3 separate regions of the Homo sapiens genome follow, and regions 2 and 3 are each linked to region 1. Evidence: promoter capture Hi-C in 16 types of primary human blood cells and fetal thymus (Javierre and others, 2016). All regions are on one chromosome and are shown on one strand. The core of a region is centred on a gene start or on the middle of the fragment in contact, and the rest is flanking DNA. Distances in the headings are between cores, read along the strand shown.

What was found. The method cuts DNA at HindIII sites, captures the fragments that hold promoters and counts their contacts. A CHiCAGO score of 5 or more calls a contact.
Region 2: a fragment that was not itself captured here is called in contact with the fragment with the promoter of CAVIN1 in region 1 in 16 of 17 cell types (endothelial precursors, megakaryocytes, total CD8 T cells and 13 more); the score reaches 26.7 in endothelial precursors.
Region 3: a contact is called between a fragment that was not itself captured here and the fragment with the promoter of CAVIN1 in region 1, in 14 of 17 cell types (megakaryocytes, endothelial precursors, M0 macrophages and 11 more). The highest score is 12.2, in megakaryocytes.

The regions. Positions count from the first base shown.
Region 1 is chr17:42,421,988-42,424,523 of GRCh38, reverse strand. It overlaps CAVIN1 (caveolae associated protein 1), which reads left to right and starts at 1,268. Exons shown (of 2, transcript NM_012232.6): 1 at 1,268-1,897. The coding sequence starts at 1,427. It overlaps LOC102725238 (a long non-coding RNA gene), which reads right to left and starts at 1,336. Exons shown (of 4, transcript XR_007065758.1): 1 at 1,252-1,336. The HindIII fragment of the contact is 2,664 bases long and covers 779-2,536 here.
Region 2 is chr17:42,512,521-42,515,056 of GRCh38, reverse strand. ATP6V0A1 (ATPase H+ transporting V0 subunit a1) reads right to left here. Exons shown (of 22, transcript NM_001130021.3): 20 at 1,079-1,196; 21 at 597-768. It overlaps MIR5010 (microRNA 5010), which reads right to left and starts at 869; the gene lies at 750-869. The HindIII fragment of the contact is 2,506 bases long and covers 7-2,512 here.
Region 3 is chr17:42,487,666-42,490,201 of GRCh38, reverse strand. All of the region lies in intron 10 of ATP6V0A1 (ATPase H+ transporting V0 subunit a1), which reads right to left. Among named protein-coding and RNA genes, the nearest start is that of MIR548AT, 5.8 kb to the left of the region's middle. The HindIII fragment of the contact is 1,543 bases long and covers 498-2,040 here.

The sequences.
Region 1 (2,536 bases), core at 19-2,518:
TTACAGGCATGCGCCACCACGCCTGGCTAATTTTGTATTTTTAGTAGAGATGGGGTTTCTCCATGTTGGTCAGGCTGAGGTCGAACTCCCGACCTCAGGTGATCCACCCACCTCCGCCTCCCAAAATGAGCCACTGCGCCTGGCCTAATTTTTGTATTTGTAACAGAGACGGGGTTTCACCATCTTGGGCCAGGCTGGTCTTGAACTCCTGACCTCGTGATCCACCCGCCTGGGCCTCCCAAAGTGCTGGGATTACAGGCATGAGCCACCGCGCCTGGCCTAAGAGAGGTGGGCTTTTAAAAAGGGCTTTACACCAGGCGCGGTGGCTCCCAGCACTTTGAGAGGCTGAAACCAGCAGATCACTTGAGCTCAGGAGTTCGAGACCAGCCTGGTCAAAATAGTGTACACCCCGTCTCTTAAAAAAATAAAAATTGAAAAAAATAAAAATTGAAATTAGCTGGGCGTGGTGGCAAGCGCCTATAGTCTCATCTACTCAGGAGGCTGAAGTGGGAGGATTGCCTGAGCCCAAGAGGTCGAGGCTGCAGTGAACTGTGATCAGACCGCTGCACTCCAGCCTGGGTGACAGAGTGACACCCTGTCTCAGAAAGGGGGGTTGGGAGGTGGGCTTTATTTTCCGTTTGATTGCCCATCTTAATTCTACTCTGTTAGGGCAATTCTAAAAAGAACTTAGAGGAGCTTCGCAGCCCTTCACCACCACCGTGACCCCAAATACGTTCTCTCTTTCTCCCCCCGCCCCCCACAAACAACCCCCTAAGCTTACCCCTGAGTTAGTAACCTGGTTGGGGTTGGTGATGAGGAAATCCGAGAGGCCTCTTAGAAAATATTGTAAAGGGCAAGGGTCCTTTTGTGCTCAAAATCTAGGTAAAGGCAAATACAAGATTTTGCCTATAATTTCAGAATCTCCTGGTCCACCCGGCTCCCAGATCTTGAGGATTTTCGGATGAGCAATTCAAGTGAGAGGGAAACAGAGAGCAACACTCTTAGAACCTGATTCCGTTCCTCAGCTCGCATTCCTCCGCCCGTCCCGCTCCCGCCGCCAGCGGAGGCCCTAGTCTCCCGCTCCAACTATTCCAACCATCCCGGGAAGGGTGGGGCGCTCGGCTCTTGGGTCCCCCTCCGCCGCCCCGCCTCGTCGATCTCCCCTTCTGCCCCGGTCCCTCCCTTTCTGGGGTGGGGCCAGCCAATCAGCGATCAGACTCCGGAGTTTGGCCCGGGAGCTGGGGAGCTCACCGATCCCCCGCCCAGCAGTTCTGGCCGCTGTCCCGGTGCGCACGGACGTGGCTCGAGTTTCCTCTGCTCTCCGCTCTCGCCCGCTAGCTCTCCTCCCTTCCGCTCCTGCTTCTCTCCGGGTCTCCCGCTCCAGCTCCAGCCCCACCCGGCCGGTCCCGCACGGCTCCGGGTAGCCATGGAGGACCCCACGCTCTATATTGTCGAGCGGCCGCTTCCCGGGTACCCCGACGCCGAGGCCCCGGAGCCTTCCTCCGCTGGGGCTCAGGCAGCGGAGGAGCCGTCGGGGGCCGGCTCAGAAGAGCTGATCAAGTCGGACCAGGTGAACGGCGTGCTGGTGCTGAGCCTCCTGGACAAAATCATCGGGGCCGTAGACCAGATCCAGCTGACTCAAGCACAGCTGGAGGAGCGGCAGGCGGAGATGGAGGGCGCAGTGCAGAGCATCCAGGGCGAGCTGAGCAAGCTGGGCAAGGCGCACGCCACCACGAGCAATACGGTGAGCAAGCTGCTGGAGAAGGTGCGCAAGGTCAGCGTCAACGTGAAGACCGTGCGCGGCAGCCTGGAGCGCCAGGCGGGGCAGATCAAGAAGCTGGAGGTCAACGAGGCCGAGCTGCTGCGGCGCCGCAACTTTAAAGTCATGATCTACCAGGTGAGCCCACAGGGCGGAAGGCGCCCAGAGCTCCCGCGCCCGGCCCGCGTCCCCTGCCTGGGAGTTGGGGTGGGGAGACCTGCCCGTGGCGCTGCTCCCCTCCCAGCCTGGCCCGGGCGCCCGGCAGATCCACCCTCCTTCCGGTGAGCGCGGCTGGGGTGGGGTTGGGTGGGGTAGGATGGGGTGGAGGGAGCGGCGGACTCCTGGGGCGCGTAGAGGGGCGCGCTCTGCACCTCGCACCTCCCCACTCAGATCCTTCCCTCGGGTCCCAAACTTGTAGCAGAACCGAATTAGCGGGTGGACTCGAGGACGCTGCCCCTCGCAGACCGCTCCCTCCCTAATTGGCTCTGTCAAACTTCTTCCTACTTGGGGGAAGTTTCTAGGAAAGTCAGGGGTCCCTCGCGATCGTTGGGGTCCGCTGTAAGCGGACACTGGCTGCGGGGCCCGGGCCTGGGGCCTCTGCGCCTGCGGGCCTGATATAGCGGGTGATTCAGGGCTCAGGCACGCACCAGCGGGGGCTGTGCCAAGCGGGGAACGCGACCGCCAACCTCCTCCCCAGACCCTGCGCCCCCGCGCCCCCACATCGGCCTCGGCGGCCCACCCCTGTCCCCTCGCTGCTCTCTGCTCCTGGCCACCAGG
Region 2 (2,536 bases), core at 10-2,509, 91 kb before region 1:
CAAGCTTCATTAAAGAAAACAAACAGAACCACCCCAAACCTGCCCATGTGAAGAAGCTGCGTGAGTGTACCGACCTCCACCCTATAGAGCCAGGAATCCCTCCGGTCCACAATGGAGCTGCCAGGGGTCCAACTCAAAGACCCCTGGCACAATGACAGAACAAAGAGGATAAAGCTGGGGTGCAGCGTGTTCTAGCCTTTCCTGCACTTAACATACATTCCAGAGCTGCTTCCACTGTTCTGAAGACAGAAGAGTTACACATCAGAGAGAAAACCAGAAACCCTAAGACCCCAGCAGCCCCTTTAAGCCAAAATCAGGAGCACTGGGGACAGCTAAAGGCAGGGAGCGGGACCTGACACCACTCACCAGGGACATCTCCCTAGAGCCTAGGGAAGGCTGAGCTGTGCTTTTCTGTGACCATTTTCCGAAACTCTGTGGCAATGCCGGTGCTGGGGTGTCCTGAGGTGAAGCTAGTGCAGGGCCAGCTCATCTTTCCTGCACAGAGCTGCAGGGCTGTGTGTGGGAGAAAAGCTGCCCTCTCACCGCAGCTAAGGACACATCCACCCCCATGCCCGCCCTGCCCCACTGCCCCTCACCAGTGTAAGCGCAGTGCGTGGAGAAAGGCCGAGAGGCCCTCCATGATCAGGAGGATGGCCACGGTCAGGGTGGCAAAGGCAGTGAAGAAGAAGAACAGCACCAAACCTCCCGCCAAGCTCTTCACGCTCAGGCCGATGTGGATCACCATGGTCCAAAGCACCTCAGACAGCTCTGGGGAATGGGAGACACAAAATCCAGTGCAGTTTGGCAAGAGGCAGCTGTAGGCCATGAATTTTGCTCTGCCATCCCCCTGCTCTAGGGTTCCCTGGATCCTGGCTTCCCACTGCCTTAGTGGGACCACCATGCAGAGCTAACCTGGCACAAGTGCTGAGCCTCCTGTCTGTACTCATTCTCCTTGGGTTCAGGAACCTGAATAATTCCAGAACCTTCATGTAATTTCCATTTGACTTAAGCCCCCCAACTGACAGTGCGCCCACAGAGGGGGAAACTAGAGTTCCGGAGCCCGGAGAGAGGTACTCACGCGCATGAGCGAGGCTGAGGGCCCAGAGCCGCAAGTAGGAGGCAGTGTTGGAGATGCAGCCCAGGCAGTACTCGATGGTGTGGATGGCCTGGTGGACCATGGTGTCCCCAAAGTCAAACTGTCGTGGGAGGAAACCAGAGAGAAGATATAAGGCTAGGAGGGGAACGTGCAGGCATTCTGAGTTGTGGCTACTTGGCGCTTTGAACCTGGGCCAGGGCAGGGGACTGCACTTCCCATGGATGGCACCTCAACTCTGGAGGGGCCAGAAGCACCCAGTGTTGAGCTCAGGTGGTGATTTCGGCAATGCCTTCCCCAAAAATCCTGCCTGACTTAGCCCTCACCTGGGACACCTCCATTCCCCTCAATACATTACATTTTAATTAACTACATCTTAATAAGATTCTTTTCAACACATTTGTTCTTCTCCCTCTGGGGCTCTGTGCTCAAGAGAGGAGTGTGTGCTGAGTTGACGGCACTCTGTTGAGAAAGTGACTGTCTGGGTCTGGGACCCTAAGGACCTGCAGGAGGGCAGGAAGGGATTTTCCCCAGAGTGCGCTTCAGGAGACAGACTCTCAACCCGGACACTGTCCTGAGAAGACTAGGCCTCTATGGCCACTTTACTTATTCTTTTTACAGCCTTTTGGGAGCAAGATAACCTTCTTTTTCTTTTGTGACTTCTAAAGAGATTACACGGTGAATTTTTTTTTCCCTACATGATTTCACCACCATGCACAGGGAAATCCTGACAAAGTTTACAAATTTCCACATGGGTTAAGGCCAAACAGCATATCTGTTTGGGTTAAGACTAAATAGCATATCTCCAGTTTCTTGTTTGTTTTCGTTTTCCTCAAGCTCCCTTTGTCCCAGTTTTCCTTTCAATACCAAGAATTATTTCCAGAATAAAGGAATGGGCTGGAACAAGCTCTTGGGAGTGAACTTTCAGGTTTGCTCCAAGCACAGTCAGGGGTGAATGTGGGCTTCTGAATTTGGTATATTCTGGAAGCCCCAGGTACTTTCCCTGGGCCTCTCTGTCAAGCTGACCAAAGACCAGGAGGCGCTCCCTTATGGGGCTTCCCCCCGCAGAGCCCAGACCAGAATCTTCTGAGCTTTCAGACACTCCTGAGGGCTCAGTGGCCTCCCCATCGGCCCCTGCCCTCAGGTCAGGGTCTATTTTTCACCGCAGTTCCTTTCAAAACCCACGTGATTCCACTCCCAAAGGACACCAGAAATGCCTTGGGAAATCACTGAGAACATGGGGATGGGAGAAAGTGGCTTGGCTGGTAAAGCCACAACAGCCCAGGCCACAGGGGTGCAGCCAGCGTGGAGGGGGCTGGCTCCACCATGCCATCTCTGGGCGAACGTCTGCTTCTCCCTCACCTCTGTCGACACCTAGCCTATTTCTGGGCTTTTCTTCCGGAACAGGCTCTTCAAGCTTCCTTACTTACCCTGAAAACTAGG
Region 3 (2,536 bases), core at 20-2,519, 66 kb before region 1:
ATGTCACCAAAGAAAATGTGGAACTGCCTCCATATCTGCCTTTTTATGAAAGTTGTTCTCCCCCTTTCATGGAGAAAGCAAAGTATGTTCTCTGGCTCTCCTTCTTCACTACCTTCTCTTAACTTCCTGATCCCTTGCAGTCTGGCTGAGCATGCTTAGGCAAAGTGACTGGCTCCTGACCAAAGAGCTTCTCTCCCCCATGCACGCCCCTGACATTGGAGATCTTTGGTGAAAATCCTTCTTCCTTAGGAGTTCTCCTCCTGCTCGCTGACCATTGCTTTTCTATCTTTGCTGGTTATTTCTGCTCTGCCTATCTCATAGCATTGCAAGACCCCAACCTTTTTTTTCTCTCTATGACCTCCCTCTTGGAGGTCTCATTCCCTTCCATTCTCATGACTCCCATTTCCTTAGCTTTGTTCCCTTGTCTGCTTGACATTTCCACATAGACCTCAATGTGCCCGGAACTGAACTTACCATCTCTCCCCAATCAATAAGCTTCTCTGGCTGAACATTTACTTCCCTCATTGGAACCCTAATTCTCCTGGCCAGTCAGCTTTGATGCCTCAAAAAGATGTTTAAATCTTTCTCCTTGTATTTCTCCTGCACCTTGCTAGGAACCAGGTAGCCCTATTGATTTTTCCTGCAGAACATCTCACAATTCATCATTTTTTTTCCCATTGTCAAGTCCTACCTGGGGATCCTTATCATTTACTACTCTATGTCTACAATAACCTCCTAACTGAACCCCTACCTACAGAATCTCTTCACTCCTCAATCCAACCTAGATACTATCAGCAGATTACTCTTTTAAAACTGCTTTGAGCCAGGAGAAGTGGCTCATGCCTGTAATCCCTGCACTTTGGGAGGCTGAGGCGGGTGGATCACCTGAGGTCAGGAGTTCGACACCAGCTTGGTCAACGTGATGAAACCCCGTCTCCACTAAAAATACAAAAAATTAGCTGGGTGTGGTGGCGCACACCTGTAATCCCAGCTACTCAGGAGGCTGAGGCAGGAGAATCACTTGAAGCAGGGAGGTGGAGGGTGGAGGTTGCAGTGAGCCGAGATCATGCCACTGCACTCCAGCCTGGGCAACAAGAGCAAAACTCCATCTCAAAAAAAAAAAAACCAAAAAACAAAAAAACTGCTTTGATCCACCAGGCGTGGTGACCCACTTTTTTTTTTTTTTTGAGACAGAGTCTCACTCTGCTGTCCAGGCTGGAGTGCAGTGGCATGATCTCAGCTCACTGCAACCTCTGCCTCCTGGGTTCAAGTGGTTCTCCTGCCTCAGCCTCCTGAGTAGCTGGGATCACAGGCACCCACCACCATACCTGGCTAACTTTTTTGTATTTTTAGTAGAGACGGGGTTTTGTCATGTTGGCCAGGCTGGTCTCAAACTCCTGACCTCAAGTGATGACCCGCCTCAACCTCCCAAAGTGCTGGATTACAAGAGTGAGTCACCACGCCTGGCCCCAACACTTTGGAAGGCCAAGGAAGGCAGATCACTCGAGCCCAGGAATTTGAGATCAGCCTGGGCAACATGGCAAAACCCTGTCTCTACAAAAAATTAGCCACGCATGATGGTGGGCACCTGTAGTCCCAGCTACCGGGAGTCTGAAGTGGGAGGATTGCTTAAGCCCAGGAGTTGGAAGCTGAAGTGAGCTGAGATGGCACCACTGCACTCCAGCCTGGGTAACAGAGCAAGATCTTGTCTCAAACACAAAATTAAAAATGTAAAAAACCACCCAAACTGCTTTGATCATGTTCCTTTACCCCTAAAGAACTTCCAATGTCTCTCAACTTCCTCTGGAATAAAATTTAAATCTTCTAAGCTATTATTTAAGAACCTTTCACAATTAAGTTCCAAACTACCTGATGCAGACAGGTACTTCTCTTCAGCTAACCCACTGTAAATCCTGTTCTTGTCCAAACATACATGGTCTAACCATACTTCCTGCCTTTGTTTTCTTCTCTTCATTCAGCAGTCTTACCAACAACTTATCATTCTTCAAAGACCTGATCAAATGCCACCTGCTTAAAGCTTTTTCCAACTCCATAGTTGGAACTCTCCTAATAAACTGTAAGATACTCGAGGGCATGTTTTATACATCTCTGTACTCCTCCAGGCACTTACAGCACTTCTGTGGACAGAGTAGTTGTTCTAATTAACTACTAAACAGAAACAGTCATATACAGAGAGGGCATCAGGAAACTGATGCCCTGGCCATGAACAACCCTGAAGAATCATGGGCATATGACCAAATTATTTCAGCTCTCTGAACTGCAGTCTCCACATATGCAAAATAAAGATATGCTATGCTACGCTATGATATACATATTATATGCCAGGCTATGTATGAAATGTGCTGTCAAGTTAAAAGACAAATAAATATATTGAAGAACTCTGAAGGTGAAATGCCATAAAAATGACATTAATGTTACTATTTATTTATTTTTTATTATTATTTTTTTTTTTTGAGACAGAGTCTCGCTCTGTTGCCCAGGCTGGAATGCAGTGGCGCAATCTCAGCTCACTGCA